Linked DNA regions of Homo sapiens: region 1 is linked to region 2. Evidence: promoter capture Hi-C in human tissues and cell types (Jung and others, 2019). All regions are on one chromosome and are shown on one strand. The core of a region is centred on a gene start or on the middle of the fragment in contact, and the rest is flanking DNA. Distances in the headings are between cores, read along the strand shown.

The links. The method cuts DNA at HindIII sites, captures the fragments that hold promoters and counts their contacts. A contact is called where the count stands out against the background at its distance.
Region 1: the fragment with the promoter of RIMS4 here is called in contact with a fragment that was not itself captured in region 2 in 2 of the 25 tissues and cell types used here (H1 embryonic stem cells and dorsolateral prefrontal cortex).

Annotation. Positions count from the first base shown.
Region 1 is chr20:44,809,020-44,813,284 of GRCh38, forward strand. RIMS4 (regulating synaptic membrane exocytosis 4) reads right to left here and starts at 1,527. Exons shown (of 6, transcript NM_182970.4): 1 at 1,156-1,527. The coding sequence starts at 1,252. The HindIII fragment of the contact is 17,434 bases long and covers 1-4,265 here.
Region 2 is chr20:44,889,046-44,893,047 of GRCh38, forward strand. All of the region lies in intron 1 of YWHAB (tyrosine 3-monooxygenase/tryptophan 5-monooxygenase activation protein beta), which reads left to right. Among named protein-coding and RNA genes, the nearest start is that of YWHAB, 5.3 kb to the left of the region's middle. The HindIII fragment of the contact is 5,673 bases long and covers 1-4,002 here.

The DNA of each region.
Region 1 (4,265 bases), core at 277-2,776, 80 kb before region 2:
GTTTTGTTCCCCCATTGAATTCAAAGACTCTCGGATTTTCACCTTATAAAACACTGAACTCCACCCTCACACCATACAGAGCTTTGCATCGATACGATGATCCCCATTTCAGAGATGAGGAAATCCAGGCTCAGAGGTGGCATGACTTGCCCAAGGTCACAGCTAAGAAGTAGAGAATGAAGACTGGAACCTGATTCCGATTCCCAATCTGGCATTCTTTGGGGAACTCTCACCCAAGCCCTCTAGCTACCCCACCTGTTGGTGGATTCCCTTCCTCACCCCAGAACCAAATCCGGAGCTCTCATGTTCCTTCTGCCGGGTCCCAGGGCCCTAAAGAGTAGGTTTCCCTACAGCTCCCCACCCCTCGCTCTGGCTGAGGTTGTGCGCAGGCCTGGGAGGAGGAGGTTCAAGCCGCTGGCTGGTGGCCGGCTTCAGCCCACCAAGAAAGGCGACTCCAGGGACAAGAGCACCTGAGGTCAGGGGCACACACCAGCGGGCGGACAAGTGTAGAGTTGGCGCCGCCCTACACCTCTCTCCGGGAAGAGAGGGGAGGAAAGGCCGTCACCTGGCCGGTTCCCCTCCGTCTGCCCCAGGCGTATAAGAAGCAGGAGTCTGGAGCCCCAGCCCATGAGGGAAGGAGAGGAGAGATAAATGGGGGCGCTCAAGGCCTGGGGCGCCGGGCAGGGGTCTTGGGCAGGGATCCTCTGGATGTGGCCAAGACAAAGATGGAGAGGTAAGGTCTGCGCGCCACCTCCAATGGCGGGGGGCGCGTCGGAGCCCCAGGGGTGGGACGGCCAAAGCCCAGGGCTTGAAGAGTGGGCACATTCAGGAGACTCAGGGAGGGTGGCAGGTCGGCTCCAGGGACGAGGCAAGGGGCCTCCAATAGGCGCGGGTGAGGAGGGAGATGGGTCCTGGCGACCCAAAGGGCCCACCTGCGGGAAAGGTGAATGCAGACAATCTCGGGGTCCCTGGGGGAGAAGGCCAGAAGGTAGCGCATCCTGGAGACCCTGGGGTCCCGTGGGTGCGGAAGGAGACCCTGGGGGCGCCTTCCCAGGGGATTGGGGGTGGGGAGGAGGGCGCACGGGTCGGGGAGGGGGCTACCGGACCTGGATCCCGGGACACCCCGGGGGTCTGGGGGGCGGGCCGCGCGCTTACCTGCGTCCTCGTCGTCGAAGGAGTTCATGCACGGGAAGTAGATGGCGAGCGCCTCGAAGGAGGCGGACAGACTGAGGCGGCTCTGCGAGCGCTCCATGCCCGCGCCGGCGCCGGGCGCCTCGGCCGCGGCGGCGGCGGCGGCGGCGGGCGGCTTGGGCAGCTTGGCCGCCCCATTCTTGACGCGGAGTACGGCGCGCGGCGTGGTGGCGGCGGCCCGGGGCCGGGCCGAGGCTCCGCTGCGGGGCTGGCGGGCGCGGCGGGGCCGGCGGGCGGGCCAGGAGCTGGCGGCGCGCGGAGCCCGAGGCGCGCTGTGCTGCTGGCGGCGGCGGCGGCGGCGGCGGTGGCGGCGGCGGTGGCGGCGCAGCGCGCTCTGGTCCGCGGCGCCCCCCGCCGGCAGCGCGAGGCGGGCTTGGAGCGGCGCCGCAGCCAATCCGTGCCGCCGGGGGAGGGGGCGCCGCTGCGGGGCGTGGGAGCCCGGAGGGCGCGGGCTGCGGCCTCTTCTAGCAGCCCCCGGGCCCGGCAGGTGCGCGCGGGGAGGCAGGCGCCGGGCGAGGTTGTCTGGGCCCTGGTCCGAGGGCTGTTCCCGACCCCGCCTCGGCCCCCACCCTCAGCCGGCCGACTTGCGGAGAGGCCGGCGTCCAGTCCCTCACCCAGACAGGCCTCTCCCAGAGACACTGGCGCGCTCGGAGGGGATGCGCTCAAAGGGTCCCGCCCAGGCGGGTCGGCACTCGGCCTCCCACACAGAGACCCTCGGCTTCACACCTGCACCCACAGAGAAGCTCAAACAGGCACCCACACCTACACATTCACTCTGCAACATGCCCCGCAGACACCCGGACAGATACACCCACAGACCCACCCCCTCACAGATGCGGGGACAGACACGTCCACGGACACACGCAGACTCACGCAGAGACCTGCAAACACACTCAGGGAGGTAGGCAGGACATCCCTGGTGCCCGGCCTCCCTCACGGGGAGACTCTCAGATGCCACAAAACCCCACGAAGTTCAGGTAGGCATACACAGTCTCATGCATTCACACTTACCAAAGACACCCCAGAATTCATACACACATTCATACACTCAGATGAACACACAAGCCCAGACCCAGCACACACTCTGTGTCGCCTCCCCCTGTGATCATCTCAGCACTGTCAAACACTCTGACTGACACGGCCAGATGCACACACCTTCACCCTCAGACACACTAGAGTAGCACACACACGCCAAGACACAGCCACACAGACTCCATCCCTCCCAGTGTGGGTGCATCCCGACGGATTGACTGACACCCTCAGACTCAGGTACACTGAGACACACTTGGCAGGCTCACACTCACAGACTCTCCCATTATCACCCTCGGCGACCCGCAGTCCTCAGACACACACGGGCTCAGACACTCACAGCCCCAGGACAGAGACGAGCGAATCGGAAACCCGTGTTCCATTCCCTGCATGTGACCTGGGACGTGAGGGTCCCTGCCCACCTAATCAGGCCCCAGATGTCAAACAACCTTCTCAGCTGCTCGCACACCTCTTTATGAAGCCATCTGGCGACATGGAAACAGTTCAGGCCTCAGAAAGAGACAGCCCAGAGTTTGAATCTCAGCTGTGGTGCTGTCTTTCTGGGTGGCCTATGGCAAAACTCTTTATCCCATGGGTCCTGTTCCTCATCTGTACAATGGGGACAGGAGCCTTCCATTTTGGATGGTTGTGAACTGCCTGTAAGATAACACAGGTGTTTGTTTTCTATTGCTGCATAACAAATGAAGCAGCTTAAAAACACCAATCTAGTGATTTACAATCCTGTAGGTCAGAAGTCTGGGCAGCCTGAGCTGGGTTCTCTGCTTAGGGCCTCACAAAGTATTGGCCAGACTGGGCTCTTCTCTGCAGGCTCTGGAGAAGAATCCGCTTCCAAGATCATTCAGGTTGTTGGCAGGATTCAGTTCCTTGTGGTTGCAGGACTGAGGTTCCTGTTTCCTTGCTGGCTGTCAGCCAGAAGTCAACCTCAGCTCCTAGAAGTGGCTTTCTGGTCCTTTCACCTGGCCCCTTCCACCTTCAAGGCCAGTTTCAGGATGTCAAGCCCTTCTCATCCTTCAGTAGAATCTTTCTACCTTGGCTTCTGCTTACTGGCCTGAGAGATTCTGCTTTTAAAGGTCTCGTGTGATTAGATCAGGTCCACTCGCATGATGTCCCTTTGACATATAATGTAATATAATCACGGTAGCGATTCCTGATCAGGGTCGCAGTTTCCACCCATGCTCACACAAGGGCGGGATCACACAAGGTATTACATAAGGGCAAGGATCACTGGAGTTATTCTGACACATCTGCCCATCACAGTGTGCAAAACACCTAGCACAGTGCTGGCCTTCGGCAGGTGCTCCTGAGCCCTAGCCCCTTCCCAGGGACCAGATCTAGACTTTGAGGCAGCCTGGTGTCATGGTTAAGAGTGCTGGTATAATCATCCCCATCTTGGTCAATGGCAGCTCCATTTTTCCACTTGTTTGGATCAGAAATGTTGGATACTTGACTCCAGTCTCACACACACCACATTCAATCCATCAGCAACTCCTGTCATTTCTATACACAAAATGTAACCAGAAACTGACCACTTCTCTGCCCCAAACCCTCCCATCTCACAGTCAAAGTCCATGTTCTACAAGGTCCTAACTTCTTTGGCTCTGCCACCCCTCTGTCTTCATACCCAGGACACCCCGGTGGCTCACTCGGCTTCAGAACATCTGTACTGCTGTTCCCTCTGCCTGAAGCCCTCTCCCTTGCAAAGGGCTGTGTAGCTCACTCACAGATCTCTGCTCAAATGTCACTTTCCCTCTGAAGTCTTCCCTCACCACTCTTTATGAAGTAGCAAAAACCCCTCCCTGAAATGCCAGATCCTCTCTACCCTGCTTTATTTTTCTCTGTAGCCCTCATCACCATCTGACATGTTTCATATATATGTGGGGGGGTACATGTATATATACAGATACACACATATTTATGTACATGTGTATATGCGTGTATGTATGTGCAAACACACATACATGTGTATATGCATGTATATGTGTATGTGTTTGCATATATATATATATATACACACACATACACAA
Region 2 (4,002 bases), core at 646-3,145:
CTAAAATTTCCTTGTAGAGATACTTTTAAGTTCCTTGTTTCTACATTTTTCTAGGGAAAGATGACAATTCACTAGTTAAGGGGCAAGAAATTATGGTTACATAATAGCAACCTTTAAGCTTTAGAATCCTTTTGATCTCTATGTGAATATGATCTTAGCAGTCATCTGTATTGCATGATGGAGAAACTAACGGTTGGAGCTGGATTCTGAGGGAATTTTTCTAAGGGGAATACTTGAGGAAACAGACTAAAAGTGCTTTCTGTCTCATGATATGTGTGCTGAAGGCCAATCATCTTACTGCTTTCTCAACTAAAAGATTTTCTAATAGAGGTGTGGTTATATGTATCTGATACTTGTAATGAGATGTAAATGATCAGTGGCCTCAAGTCATTCCTAGCAGATTGTAGGTTAGTTAACTTTTTTTTTTTTTTTAAATTCTGGCCAGTTCTTTATTATGTAAGTTTTTCCCGTACTGGTTAGTTTATTTTATTGTTTTCCCTAAAAGAACCAACAGGAGGTTATTTCTGAATGGCCTTGACCAGGACAAGAAGATTGAAGGCTACAATAAAGTAGATATGAGTCCTGTCTATTATTATTATTTGCCCTCAGCTAAGAGCTTTCCTTTAAAATTTGTTTGACATTTTGGTAAGTCTTTGGCATGTTTTTATGCTGTTTTTAACTCCTTGATTTTGTTTTTATTTTTAAAGCTAGATAACATTAGCTTAATAGGCCAGTTTTAAAATTTCACTGTAACAACCTTGTATAGTTCTTTTAAAAGTTGACAATTCTCTCTTTTCCTTAAGTGAGCATTGGAGTTCATAATTGATCTTTAGGAGATAGGGTTACATAAAGGAAAGAGCATTAATTTTAAAATTAATGTTGGTTTAGATCCCAGATCTGCCATATATAGCTGTGTGACCCTGAATGAGTTAACTCTTTGCATTTATAAAACGGGACAATGTCACCTGCCTCATAGGATACTTAGGATCAAATGCGTTTCTAGGAATCCCTGAGTGCTTTGCAGGCCATAAATGATGGATGGATATTTTTGTTATTTACTAAACGAGTTAGCTGGTTTGGGTTTCTGTATAGTGAACTTTTTGTATAGCGAACTGATTGGACTTCTGAATGGAGGAGATGGACAGAAAGTAATCCAAAGGCTTGTTGAAAGTCAGTTTGAATCTATAAATACAATGATTGGTAGCTGAAAAATATTAGTCAAAATGTATAGTGTTGCTCCTGATGAGAGCTGGCTGGCTTTTTTCAAAAAGTAGTCTAAGACAATAAAAACAGTCTGTATTTTATAGGTCAGATGTGTGCTACCTTCCTCTGTCCACGTAGGAAATAATTGCTTTTTCACTTTTTAAGAATGCATCAGTTGATCAAGCAGTCACTCAGTGTGCTAGGCCTTGTACTCCACATTGGGTGTCCAAAGATACAAGTCTGGATTCCTACTTTTTTTTTTTTTTTTTTTTTTTTTTGTGAGATGGAGTCTCACTCTGTCACCCAGGCTGGAGTGCAGTGGCACGATCTTGGCTCACTGCAACCTCTGAAGCCCGGGTTCAAGCAATTCTCCTGCCTCAGCCTCCTGAGTAGCTGGGATTACAGGCGCCTGCCACTGCGCCCAGCTAATTTTTGTATTTTTAGTAGAGACAGGGTTTCGCCATCTTGGCCAGGCTGGTCTTGAACTCCTGACCTTGCGATCCACCTGCCTCGGCCTCCCAAAGTGCTGGGATTACAGGCGTGAGCCACCACGCCTGGCTGGATTCCTACTTTAAGCTCACAATCCGGTGTGGGAGCCAGCAGAGACACTTGCATTGCAGTAAACTGTGATAAGGGCCATTTTAGAAATAAGCATAGGGAAATTGTTATGTGCCTTTCTTTTAAAAGTCTTTAAAGAAAGCAGAGTACGTGTAAAATAAATGAGGTACATAGTAAGTTTCCCTTCACTGGCTGACCATTGGTTTTTTAAGTTTTGTGTGGAATGTACTGTGGTTGCCATTTATTTGAGTGCTTACTGTTTTATATCATAAACAGGTTTACTCCTTACAGGAACCCTAGTAAGTAGATTTGCCTATGTTTTTTTTTTTCTTCACAGAGTCTTGCTCTGTCGCCTAGGCTGGAGTGCAGTGGCGTGATCTCAGCTCACTGCAGCCTCTGCCTTCAGGCTGCCTCAGCCTCCCAATTAGCTGGGATTACAGGCGCCTGCCACTATACCCGGCTAATTTTTTTATATATTTAGTAGAGACGGGGTTTCACCATGTTGGCCAGGCTGGTCTTGAACTCCTGACCTCAAGTGATCACCCTCCTCGGCCTCCCAGAGTGCTGGGATTACAGGCGTGAGCCACCACGCCCAGCCCAGATTTGCCTGTATTATGGATGAGAAAACAAATTCACAGAGGTCACATAGCCTGTGGACTTGGTGTGCGGTACTGGTAAATCAGACTGATAGGCTTCATTATGTCAGTGGGCCCCAAACTGTAGAAATTATTCATAAGGTCAACCAATTGGGCTGTCTTTATGGATCAGAATTAACATAGTGTCTTTTGGATTGATTACTTAAGCCAAGAAGTCAATTTATTGTCATATCTACCATTAAGTCACATGTGTAACCTTGCGCCTGTCACTTAACACCCTCAGTAAGTTTAATCATGGCTAATTGGACATAATTAGCAATGATATGCAACAGCTGATGTGAAAGAGGGAAGGGATTTTGAAATAATAGAAATGCAGTTTCTCTCCAAATTCAGTGTTCACTGGACTTAGTGCTAATGACTTTGTATTACAGATATGCTGTGTTTTGTTTCCTAACAAAGAACCTGCAAATGTTTGAATGGAATTAAATTTATTACAGGACTCTAAATTTTATATGTAGAATGGCACACAGACAGTTTTATAGTGGGTGTTTTTTAGTGAGTAGTTTTCTCTGAGAGCCAGGAGTGTTTAACTTTTTCTGGGTAACACCCACTAACCACCTGGTCCCACTGACTTTCTCAGTCCCTTCTGCAGTAGCTTGGCATCTGATTTTTCTTCAGCAGAGAGACTCCAGAACTAAAACTTCTGCTGTACAGTGCTGTGGATGCTCTATCTGGAATGGTACATCTGTGAATGCTGTTCAGAATATGTGATCAGTTCCTTACCCCATTGAAACATTCGAGCCTAGATTTTTCAGATTTTCTTGTCAGTTTTCTTCCTTATTCTCATTTCTTTATCTGCTTTGGCCTTTGATTTTTATCTCATCTAGAAAAACATACATGCACTTTATTAATAACATCTCTTTTTAAGTCACGACCTAGCTACCTTTAAACCTATTTCCTCTAGTTCTGTCTGGTTGGCTTTCTAAGGAGAGGCATTGTAACCCTTAAACGTGTGCTGTTTTTTTTTTTAATTGATGTGTAATAGATATACATGTGCTCTTTTCTTGTGTTTCTACCACTAGAGTTTAAGCTCTCTGAGGGGAGGACTACACTGCTTTCTTTTAAATTCCTCTCAATGAATAATCCAAAGAGTTCTTAGAAATTTGGTAGTTTTTCATTTTGTTAGTTATTTCAACACACATTGGATTATATGTGTTACATTTTTGTGAGGTAGCTTAAGAATAAAAAATAAGAATGGCTTATGAGCCTTTACTCTAACCAGCACTATATGGGCATTTTATGTTCATTATCTTATTTGATAGCTATTAATGTCTCTTTTTAACACTGAGAAAACAGATTCAGGTAAGTTATAATGTGGAAATGTAGAAAAATCACCTACTTTCTCTTTAGAAGCTCAGATGTGTATGTAAGGCTTGCTAAAAGCAGACCCCACCGTATATTTTATATGTATAGAGCTTGGGTAATTCCTGACATATAATAATGGAGTCTTCATCTGAAATTTCTAACAAATTATTAAATTCAAAGCTTATTATTTTCGAATCGAGCATGTTCTTTGCCTTGAAAACAAAACATAGCTGAAAGCCAGTGCTTCTAAAGGCCACAGCTGTCATTTTCAACCCTTTCT